Linked DNA regions of Homo sapiens: region 2 is linked to region 1. Evidence: promoter capture Hi-C in 16 types of primary human blood cells and fetal thymus (Javierre and others, 2016). All regions are on one chromosome and are shown on one strand. Each heading gives the region's core, a stretch centred on a gene start or on the middle of the fragment in contact. The rest is flanking DNA. Distances are from core to core; before and after follow the strand shown.

Region 1 (5,701 bases), core at 2,693-5,192:
CAAGAAGCACTGATTTTCTACTGTTGTATCCCATTAAAAAAAAAAAAACAGTAAAGCCTAGTTCATGAGCACCTTCATTTAATAGCTAATTGCTGGATTTGATTGGATAAAGTTTTCTTTAATGGATGATAAGTTTTCATAAGGAAATAGAATTTGAGAGGTAGGATGCTAACAACTGTTCACTTTGTTGCTTTTGTAAGCATGTTCAAATTTTTAATCTTACCTCAGCCATGATATTTTTGAGCTGCTGAATACAAAGAAATTTAGCTCACCAAATACTTGCATTGGCTTTCAAAATGTTTATGGCAGCCTCTGCAGCTCTATGTTTCGCCAGCTTCTTACTTGTACCTTCACCTGAATTAAGATTTAAAAAAAGAAGTCTTTATCTCCCACAAAAATGTGCAGCTTACAAAGATGTTTTCAATACACAAAACAAAGTCACTATAGATTTTACATACACATACTAGGTAATAAAAATATGTACGTTATATACTGTACATAAAAATATGTACATGTTATATACTACATGGTTATATACTGTAATAAAATATTCACCATGTGAAAAAATTTTAAAAAATAACTTTTTAAAGTTCTATATAATTCTATGCATACCTGCATAAAAATCCTTATTTCTACATTATATATGTTTATTATATAACATGGTAATAAAGTAGACCGTGTCACACCTCTGAAGAAATGCAGATTAGTATTTTACTCTTCCTTTATTCCTGGAGGGGAAATTCTTCTGCAGCAAGAAGTTTCTTTTAAAGGAACCATTTACAGCAGAATTGTTTGATAGCAAAATGTGCATAATTTTATTCTGACAGCCTGTCCTATAACGTATCAAACTGCTTTGCTAGGCTGAGCAGTCATGATTATGTGTTGGGTACAACAGGAAAGAGTTTTATGGAATAAGGTGACAGCTTGTTATGTATCTTCTGGACGGTCTGTATCTTCTGCATGGGTAGCTAAGTTGGGACTGGGGATAAGACTGATGTCTAATTTCAGTAAGCAATCACAATGGCAAATGATAAATTCCATCTTTTTCCTTTTAAGTTCAAACTCCCATACCCTCATGGAATAAGTTTCAAGTGTGGCCTTCAAGTGTGGCCCTCAAGTGTAAGAAGACACAGAAACCATATATTTATCTGCTAACACAGGTATTAGGGATATAGCATACAGGGTCCCTGCCCTCAAGAGCCAACAGAGTAGTGTGGGATTTTTGTCTGTTAATAGGCACCTGAAGTATGGAATGGGATATGTTACAACAAGCCTAAGTGCAGGCTGTAGCGGAGGTTGCAGTGAGCCAAGATCATGCCACTGCACTCTAGCCTGGGTGACAGAGTGAGACCCTGTCTCAAAAAAAAAAGAATGAACACTGGTTGTAATGTGACAAAAGGACATCACAAGACTAGAAGGTAAACGTGTAGCTACAAGACTGCAGCTACAATCCAAGTGAGAGATGATGGTGGCCTAGGCAGTAGCAATGGCCAGAAGAGAGAAGCCGACAGATTCAATGGATAGTTAGTGGATTATTAAACGCCAATGGATAGAGTTTAATAACAGACTGGACAAGAGGGAGAAAGACGGGAAGTAGTTAGGAAGACAAAAGCCTACATTTCTACTGAACTAGGTGATTGTGGAGCCTTTACATAGAAAGGGAATGCAAGAAGAATGGGTTTGAGGGAAAAGATGGATTCAGTTTGGGACAATGAGAGGCTTGAGGGGCCTCTGTGTCATCCAGGCAAAGATGCTCAGCAAGCACAGACTGATACACTATTCTGTAACTGGGCTTGGGATGTAGACAGACATTTCAGAATATTAGTCTTTAGACAGTATCAGAAGCCATGGAGGCAGATAAGCTTGCACAGGAAGCCATGGTAGTGTGAGAAGAGGGCGTAGGCAGAACGGTTGCCATAGGTTGTTAATTTGGGGTCTAAAACACATTGAGAGGGAAAAACCCTCCCTTTTCTTGAATTCTTCCTATCTAGAAATAGACTAGCTAAAGTAAGTAATGCAGTGTTGACTCTATGGTTCCCATGGGGACCCTTCCGGCCAGCACCTACAATCTAACTGCCTCACACAAAAAGTTTTAAACTTTTCTTAAAGTGGCATCAATTAAAATAAAAGACTCCAAACTTCCAGGGACACAAACAAATGCTGTCTTCAGATTTTCCAGATGGTAGAACTTGAGCCTTCCTACTAAATTTTTTTCTTGGCATTCTTCCAAATTAAATTTAGCATCCAATGTTTTCTGTGTTTGCAATTAAATAGATACATAAGAAAAATAATGTCCACATTTACAAATGAGCAACTTTAGTTATCATTTGCTCAAGCTCACAGACCAAAAGAAAGCATGAACTTTAAAATTTCATTGCTTTGTGACTTCATTGCTATACGCATGTTACTTATAATCTCTCTGAACCTGTTTCTTCTTGTTTAAAAAGTGGATAATATACAAAATATCTGTTCAGTTTCAAAAACTAGAAGTTATTATGTAATATATGAGGACCTTCTCCCCTTCCTCATTTTGTTTGGATACAGAATCAAAAGTAGCACAATGGACCTAAAGTGCCAAATGAGTCCATACAGAGAGGAGAGACGCTCAGAAAATTCTGGGGTCATGCCTCCTGGCATCCGCTATAATCTATGAAACTTCACAGTACCTACTGACCCAGCTATGACTGCTCCAAGAACCTTTCCTGCTTCCCTCTAATTCTAAGAAGAACCCTAGGAGGATCCTAGGGTATGAGAAGAGCCATGCAGGATCCAGCCATCCGGCTGGGTAACTTTTTAGTTTCTAAGCTTCCTTGGTATGTGGGGAAGAGAAAATTAGGAAGAGAATCAGATGCAGCTGAAAAGCCCTAACGACCTGAGATGAGAGGTCTCAGTTTCAGAGCCTGTTCCTCACAGCTGTCTGGCAAAAAGAGAACTTTTCCGAACTGAAAAGCAACACCAAGTATTGACTGCCAACCCACTCGGTCATCCAGGTTAACTGTGTATACAGACCTGTGCAGGTTATGTCACCAACGGTTACTCTGAAGGTGAAAGTGGGCACGTGTATTTGCACATCAGATCTTTCACATTCATAAACTGGGATGTTCTTGGTCTTCATGCCGTATTCGTGTAATACCTGAATCGGTGTTTTCCCTGGCTTAGCTGTTATCATCTTCCCCAAACTGCAAAAACCACAAAAAGGTGTGCTTTGCATGCCAAATTGGAGATTGAAGCAGAAGCGTAGAGGCCAGTTTTAACCGCCACCGACGGTGACGAGGGAGGCGCCGAGTTCCCCGGAGGCCAGGGCCAGAGCTGGCGAGGCTGGGGCGCACCTGTCTTCCGGCCCCGCTGCGGCAGTCACTCCGCAGGAGCAGGCGGGGTGAGCGAGGTCTTTAGAGAGAGCACTTGAATGCGGGTAGGAGAGATTCTCAACAGAACAGGGCTGGCAGCAGCGCCGCAGCCTCTCAGGGAAAACCTGACGATCCCTTCCCGGGCGCGCCGACCGAGCGTCACCTCCGCCCGCCCCGCGCGCCGCCAGGGACCACGAGAGGGGCGGGGCCCGGCCGCAGACCCCAACCCTCGCCGCCGAGAGGGCGGGGCCGAGCACCCACAGCCGCGGAGGCGTGGGCGCCGGGCACGGCTTTACCCAGAATGCCTCTGGAGGGCCGGCTCCCCGCGCCCCGGCCCTGCCGCCCAACGCTCCCGGCCCTGGGGCCCTGACTGCCCGCACGCTGACCTGAAGGTCCCACTGTCCTCGCGCTCCAGCGGCGGGGCCTCGGCGCGGTGCCTGCTCTGGGACATGGCGAGAAGGGACGGCTCAGCGGCTGGAGGAAGAGCGGTGCGGAGCGACGTGCTCGCTCCCCGGGTCGCTGGTCCCCGGGAGGAGCTCCAGCGCCGCCACCTCCTCCGACTCCCCCGCCTCCTGCTTGCGTTGCTCCAGCGAGGGGGCAGGCAGGGTGGGGGCGGAGCCTTGGTGCCGTAGCTCCGGCTACGCCCCCTCGCTGCTCCTCTGCGGGCCTCCGTCCCGGCCCAACTCCGCCCCTGTCCCTTCCAGGGTCCGCCCCCTTCCCGCCCGGCTCCGCCCCGCTCCCGCGTGGGCACAGGCATTGGGCTCCCGGGGGTTCTCCGCGCCCGCCCCTGCCGGCCCTGACCAGCCTGTAGTAACTGGCCCCTAGGCCGCAGTTCTTTGTCCTTAGCAGGAGGCCGTTTCTTGCCGGGAGAGAGGGATTAGAGGGATTGTCCGGCGTGGGTCTAGGGTCGTTGAGGCCTAAAGTTAAGCCTTTGTGGGGAGGACGGATTGGGGGCTGGGTCACTTTAAGAAAAAGATTCTAAAATTACGAAGGCAGAATTCCAGGGAGTCTCCCGGGCCTGGTCCTGAAGCTTGAGACCCCGGATATATACGCTCCAGGGGGCTGCGGTGCGCTCTTCGGGTCCCCGAGCCCTGTGTTTAGGAACACGCGGGGACGTCCAAACACCCGCTCCTCTCCCGCCGGGCGGGCTCCTTTGTCTTCTGGGCTTTCGTCGCGAGATGGAACGCTGGGTCAGTGCATCCCAGCAAAACACGTTAGGAGTAAACGAAGGCCTTTCCGGGGACCTGGGTAGTCGGTTGTAATGGCGTTTGCCTGGGATGCAGCACCTTTGGTGGGCCATTAGATGACGTGTCGCTTCTCCAGGGGCTTGCTAGGCACTAGCAGAAATGCTCCCCTGTGCTTACTCGGTGTTATGGAAGATTGCTTGCACAATGCTATTCGTACGAAAGGATATTATTAAAAGTGATTTATGGGCGGGCGCGGTGGCTCACGCCTGTAATCCCAGCACTTTAGGAGGCCGAGGCTGGCGGATCGCCTGAAGTAAGCAGTTCGAGACCAGCCTGGCCAACATGGTGAAACCCTGTCTCTACTAAAAATACAAAAATTAGCCGGGCGTGGTGGCATGCGCCTGTAATCCCAGCTACTCGGGAGGCTAAAGCAGGAGAATCGCTTGAACCCGGGAGGCAAATGTTGCAGTGAGCCGAGATCGCGCCACTGCACTCCAGCCTGGGCGACAGAGTCAGACTCCCTCTCAAAAAAAAAAAAAAAAAAAAAAGCGATTTGTTGTTTTGTTAGCATGTAAGCCCTGGATGCTTGAAACAAGTGAAAGATGTTCAGAATCTAATCAAATTATATCATCTGATGCTTTAATTAGAGCCTATTCTCTCTTCCTCTCCGTCTATATATGTATGTATATAGATTACTATCCATCACTGTTTTAATGGATATCTTATTGGAAGGGCTACATAGTCAGTATTTCACAATATATGAACTCCGCATAACACCTATGGCAAAACATTTCAGCACTCAGGTAAAATTCATTTTTTGCCACAAAATTACTTAAAAACAGGCCAGAACTTTATATAGCTCTTGTTAAAGGTTAAGTAGCTGGGATAATAATGAAACAAAAAGATGCAGCAGGACTCCATTTCAAAGAGAGAGAGTCTGTGTGCCCAACTTCAGAGTAAGAAACCACTAGGTAATAGTTTATATAGTTACTTATATGTAATGTGGCTTTATTTTTTAAATAAAGATTTGCATATAATTGTTTATATCTGTGAATTTATATTTAATATTAAACACAGTTTTGTAAGCATATAAGATGGAAAATGAATGAAATGCTCAATCAATGAGCTGTATGCCATGAGGATTCAAAACAGCACTTTGGTGTTGCC
Region 2 (5,701 bases), core at 1,681-4,180, about 26 Mb before region 1:
CAATACACTAAATTTCTCTGCAAGGCCTATATCCTACTTTGTTATTTTTTCCTCTACATTACCTCTACATTACTTATAATACCTTACACAATGTAAATGCTATAAAAGTTATTATACTTTATTTTTAAAAATTTGTATTTTTTTGTTGTTGCTTTTTTAAAGACTATTTTCCATCGCAGTTGCTTGAATCTCTGGATACAGAGGGTCGACTGCAAATGGAAATATTTTAGTTTTATTCTCCAAACAAAAATTATTTATTTCATCTTATTTATCTTCCATTTTTGTCAAATGAAAAAGTAAGAGTAAAGAGGCAGACACTAAAAACAAGAATAAGTAGTAACAACGTAAAGTCACAAGTAACCACTGGAAACAGTCACATTTAACACTGACTGACTTATGGGCTTATACTGCAGGAAAGAATACCTGTGTATTTGTTTCATTCATTCAACAAGTATTTTACTGAGCACCCATGATGTGCCAAGAACTGTGCTCAGCACCTATAGGCTTCTTAAAAAGTACAGAACATAGCCCCTGCCCTCTAAGAGCTTACAATCTATTACTTGTTGGAAAATTAAAGCAAATTAAGAAACCATAAAACAAGTCAATAACTAGGTGCCAAAATAAGTGAAACGGTAAGAGTTATGGGTAGATTACAAATATTTTCTTTAATAATCTGAAGGGGAGGTATATGTTGGCAAAAGTCATTTTTGAGAAACTTTTGGAGAAGGCAGGACTTGAAATAGTACAACATAGGTAAGCAAAGCAAACTTCATGGTGATACTGAGCTGGGGGCAGGAGGGTAAGAAGAACAGCCTAAGTTTGAAGTTGTGAACTAATATAATCACTCAAGACACCGTGAAAAGACCAGCCTAAGTTCAAATTAGGGAGTGTAAAGACATGCAGCCTTGAATCCTGCTTTGACATGTACTATGGGGAGGTTCTTTAAAGTTAAGCTGTGGAATTTAGATACTATGTTATAGGCACTGAAAGTACTGGAGATTCTTGGGCAAGGAGATAACACATTGAAATCTAAAATTTGTGGGGGCAGGGGGGCATCCTTGAAGCAAGAAAACCAACTCAACTCAAAAACTGTTGAATAACCTAGGCATGGGAGAGTGACGACTTGGGCTCATGTGGTAGCAGGAACTGAAATAAAATAAGATCTATTAGAGCCAGCCTTACTCAATATAGGAGCAAGAAAATCAAACTCATTTGTAAAAAGCAATTATTCATTTATCAGTTTACTGACCAAAGACCAAAAAAAAAAAGCACTGAATAAATAGAATTAGGGAGGCATTACTAAAGGAATTTTCTGTTCTTTCCATATCATCCCATAAAATCTGATATCTACTCTTATCAAATGATCTGAACTGAATCATAGGATGTTAGAGCTGAAAGGGACCTTAACTCAATTACTCTACTCTTCTCACTGATAGAGGAAAATAAAGACTCAAATAGGGAGGAAAAAAAAAGAGCCAGCTAGCATGACTCTGGGGCAAAGGCATAATCATCTGTGATAAAGATGGCAGGACCTGCATGTCCTTTGTGTAGAAAACACAAAAGACATGAAAACAGTATTTACTATGGACACTGAGGAAGAAGACAGCCTCACACATAATTTTATTGATAGAAATCTCTACAGAAAATCTTTATTTTTTTGAGATAGGGTCTCACTTTGTCACCCAGGATGGAGTGCAAGGCGTGATCTTGACTCACTGCAGCCTCGACCTCCCAGGTTCAAGCAATCCTTCTGCCTCAGCCCCCTAAGTAGCTGGGACGACAGACGCACACCACCACACCCAGCTTATTTTTAAATAGTTTTTGTAGAGATGGGGTTTCACCATGTTGCCCAGGCTGGTCTCCAACTCCTGAGCTCAAGCGATGCACCCGCCTCAGCCTCCCAATGGGAAATTTTTGAGTACTGCCATCCAGCAGGGAAAATTCTTTATCTTTCTTTACTAACATTTAACCAGTGATCCTCAAAGCATCTTAAATCACATATTATTTAAAGCTTAAACAACCTGTAAGGTCCCTTTCAGCTATAAGATCCTATAACTCTAAAAGTATGACTTTCCTATAAAGTTATATAGAATAAGAGGCAAATTTAATCTACAAGATAGAAAACTGAAATAAACCTGAAAGAATATTAAGCTCAATTTGATAATCATCAAATATTTATTACTACTAAGAGTCAGCCTAAATGCATGAGATGGCACTCTAGGTCATCTCATGAATTAAGAAAAAAAAAATTTGAACACACCACTTCTTTAAGCTAAATAGCTTGATGCATTTGAGAAATTATGAACCCTGGCTTCCGTACATCATTATGCTACCCAGTCTGCATATTATTTTACAAACAAGTTTTACAGTTTCATGTCATATTGGTAACATTCCAAAGACCACAATTATTTGGCAAGTAAGACTGCCACCAATTTTAGTCTTTAGCTAGTCCCAGCATGAGATGTTCATGCAAACCAGTCAACACATGAAGGTTTTTATAACCTTCAGTCCCAAAGTCTAAAGAATTTGTGAACTGACTTTTTTAAATTGCATGGCAGAACCCTCCCAACTGTCACTACTGTGAATGATACAGACAGACATCCTGCTTCTTCTCAATTATCTTCTGACCACTTATTCCTCCTGAGTACTTCCAAGAGTGGCAGAAGAAATAATGCAGGAAAAAGGATCAATTGTCCTATTTATTATCACCTTTAATTTTTAAAGCAATGTTTACAGAGTTTCAAATATGATTTCTGATTTGAGAATTCAAATTATCCATGCTCTCCCAGTCTGTTATAAAGCTAAAACAAGAATTTGTTTTACCAAGATTTGGGACCCATATTTGTTAGTGAAATATTAAGGGGATAAAAGGGAATTATATAATTCTGACAAAAACAGCGGAGATTCTTTTGGGACTTTCAGGGCATAACTCCTACTAAAACATTTATTTATTATACTAACAGGAGCCTTCAGAGGGAGAAGAATTCTAAACATCTAAATAATTAGGTCTACTTAAAGGCACGTGGCATATATTAGCCTAGGAAAAAGTAGAAGAAAACCACACCAAAAAAATCAGTTATTTGAATGGATGTGTACCGAGTAGCAAGTAAACTTACTAGAAAGATGGTCACTGATACAGCTAAAGAGAAAGGGCCATAAAGCAAACTGTGACCAGCTTATGTCAATGAGATACATGAAAGTACTTTTAAAAAATAAAATCTGCATTTTTTTTTTTAACTAGAACTATGACTAGCTGGTATCTTGGTTTTGGTAGTGCAATAGCACCATTACAGCAAGGGTAAGCAGGTCAATCCCTTGCAAAACTTACCTTGATTGGCCCAATGGAAACAGAAGGCCCCAGAAAAGAGAGAAGCATCTGGCAGTAGCAAATTGTTTTATTTTATCTTTCTGTGGAAAGAAACTAATTTTAAATAAGAACCAGAGCATTTAAAGAATAAATATTTTTAAAGCTCATTATCTAGTTAGAGCAGCTCTACCAAGAAAACAAGAAGAGCTCCTTGCTCCTTAGAGATGGAAAGAAACAGAAGAGGAATCAAAGTTGTTTCTCCATCACCTAGAGAGTTTTAAAATTTGTGTTATTCTAGAGTAACAGAATAAAAGGCTCTTTTATTTAAAGAACTCCTGCAAGCAGAATCTTTTGGGGCTGGTGCCTTTGAATAAAGGTTTTGTTTTGTTTTTTAACAAAATTAAGGGCAATATTCCAAATTAAAAAAAAAAAGAGGAAAATCACTGGACATTAAGCCCTTCTACTCTTAAGGTTAAGTAAAAAGAGACAGACACATAGCAAGCTCCTTTTCCCACTGCAATTTCACCAATAACTTTAACCATGAAAGCTTAAACAATTATCAAACAGTACTAATTAGCAAAAGATCACATGAAATTGGCTTCCAAAATATTTTGTTAGCCTAAATTTTTGATGATTTATGGAAATACTCAAATGGAAATAACCCAGCCACCTAAAGATCTATTATAGAACTTAACATGAAGCACAAAATTACTCATGGTAACTGAACCTGTTACCTTTCTTGGATGCTTCTCTAGAAACTCAGTTCTACCGAAATCACTGAATCAGCATTAAAACCTTTTGATCCAAATCACTCCTACAAAATGTCCATTTACAATTTATGCTAGAGATGGAAGGGACAGCTCATAAGCAGGAGTGTAGAAGCAACAAGCATTAAAAAAAAATAGTATAAGTGGAAAATGAACTACCTATTGGCACTGTCCTATGAAGAATCAGAATTATAGAGCACAAACTCCCCACCCTCCCTCACCCTCCTCCAACACACAAAGAGGAAGATATTTCAGGAATAAAATTCGCTCTAAACCAAAACAATAGCTATTTTCAGATTCTATTTATTTACATGGTCTACCAAAATCAGTTATGTTGCTGTATCAGATAATATTTACTTAGACCATCAACTTCAATTGGCATTCTTGAAAAAATAATCATTAAAAATAAAAGCCTGGATCCACACTTTACTTTTAAATAATAAAGAAAAAAATTCTTAGTTTTGAGGTCATCAGTAAATTTCTCAGAAGACTTTTTCATTATTTAAATTTCTCAGAAGACTTTTCCATTATTCAAATTTCCGTTACAGTCATGATTTAACATTTGGCTTATTTGAAATTATTCGGGCATAAACTAATCATTAAACAGCTATAACTACTGACCTAGATTCTGAAATCTTGATAGAATACCTGAGGCAAAAACAAATAAATAAATGCAAAATAAAACAAAAACAGTCTTACTTGTCCCATTGGTGGCCCTCCCATAGGGGGCATCATCTGCGGCATCATTCCATGAGGTACAGGAGGCATATTCGCTCTCTGACCCATAGGGTGCATTCCCATTGGGGCATAATGCATGCCAGGGTGCCCCATCTGAAAAACAGTGAACATTTTTAAATGAGCAAATAATACTAAATGCTTCTCAAAAATCTCATTTCAACAGATCAGTTATCTGAAGCGACATAATATTAAGCTTATGTGTAATAACATCATTGGATTAGTCTATACCTTGTTTCAAACAAAACGCATTCTGCTAGTATTTAAAACGAGCTTGCAAATTCCGTAAAAAAATGGGAAAAGTTAAGATGAATCCTGGACCGCTGGATCATAGGTTTTCTCTCTCTTTTTTTTAAGCACTGACTTAACCAGCTACTAATTGGCTTGCTAAGCTTGGAGGATACACATTGAATACTAATTTTAAAACTGTTATGGTGAAAACAACAACTCTCCTATTTCATGCAGATATAAAAGATAGCCAGCTATTGTTATTTTATAACACTACTGATTTTAAACTTTAAAATGCTCTATCCAATTAACTCAGGTGAGAGTCGGTCTTACAAAACACAAACAGTATGGCTACCCAGGCACAATTCACTCCTAACAAACTTATTTCCTAACATAACCTTTAAGACAGGTAAAATTCCTTCTGCCAAAAATACATTTTCAAAGACTGAGGTTCTGTCACTCACGGACACTAAATGCAAACAACTAATTCATCCTTTTTAACGCAGTTTAAAAAGACAACTACTTTCTTTACCGATGAGTCCATTGTTCTATGTTTTAAATTAAAACCACCTAATTATCTCCTGCCAATTGTCCCAACAGTTCCCCCTGCAGACCACCCCGACGACTAATGAAAACAAATTTTGGCAGCCGCTGTTAAAGTCTT

The links. Contacts are between HindIII fragments. The CHiCAGO score rates a contact against its expected background, and 5 or more counts as called.
Region 2: a fragment that was not itself captured here is called in contact with the fragment with the promoter of PRKRA in region 1 in 1 of 17 cell types (fetal thymus); the score reaches 6.0 in fetal thymus.

The regions. Positions count from the first base shown.
Region 1 is chr2:178,447,233-178,452,933 of GRCh38, forward strand. PRKRA (protein activator of interferon induced protein kinase EIF2AK2) reads right to left here and starts at 3,943. Exons shown (of 8, transcript NM_003690.5): 1 at 3,734-3,943; 2 at 3,010-3,179; 3 at 273-354. The coding sequence starts at 3,798. PJVK (pejvakin) reads left to right here and starts at 4,146. Exons shown (of 7, transcript NM_001042702.5): 1 at 4,146-4,537. RefSeq lists an enhancer at 3,099-3,673 and a silencer at 3,436-4,215. The HindIII fragment of the contact is 1,572 bases long and covers 2,804-4,375 here.
Region 2 is chr2:152,711,222-152,716,922 of GRCh38, forward strand. PRPF40A (pre-mRNA processing factor 40A) reads right to left here. Exons shown (of 26, transcript NM_001365597.4): 2 at 4,774-4,905. Among named protein-coding and RNA genes, the nearest start is that of PRPF40A, 3.4 kb to the right of the region's middle. The HindIII fragment of the contact is 1,843 bases long and covers 2,010-3,852 here.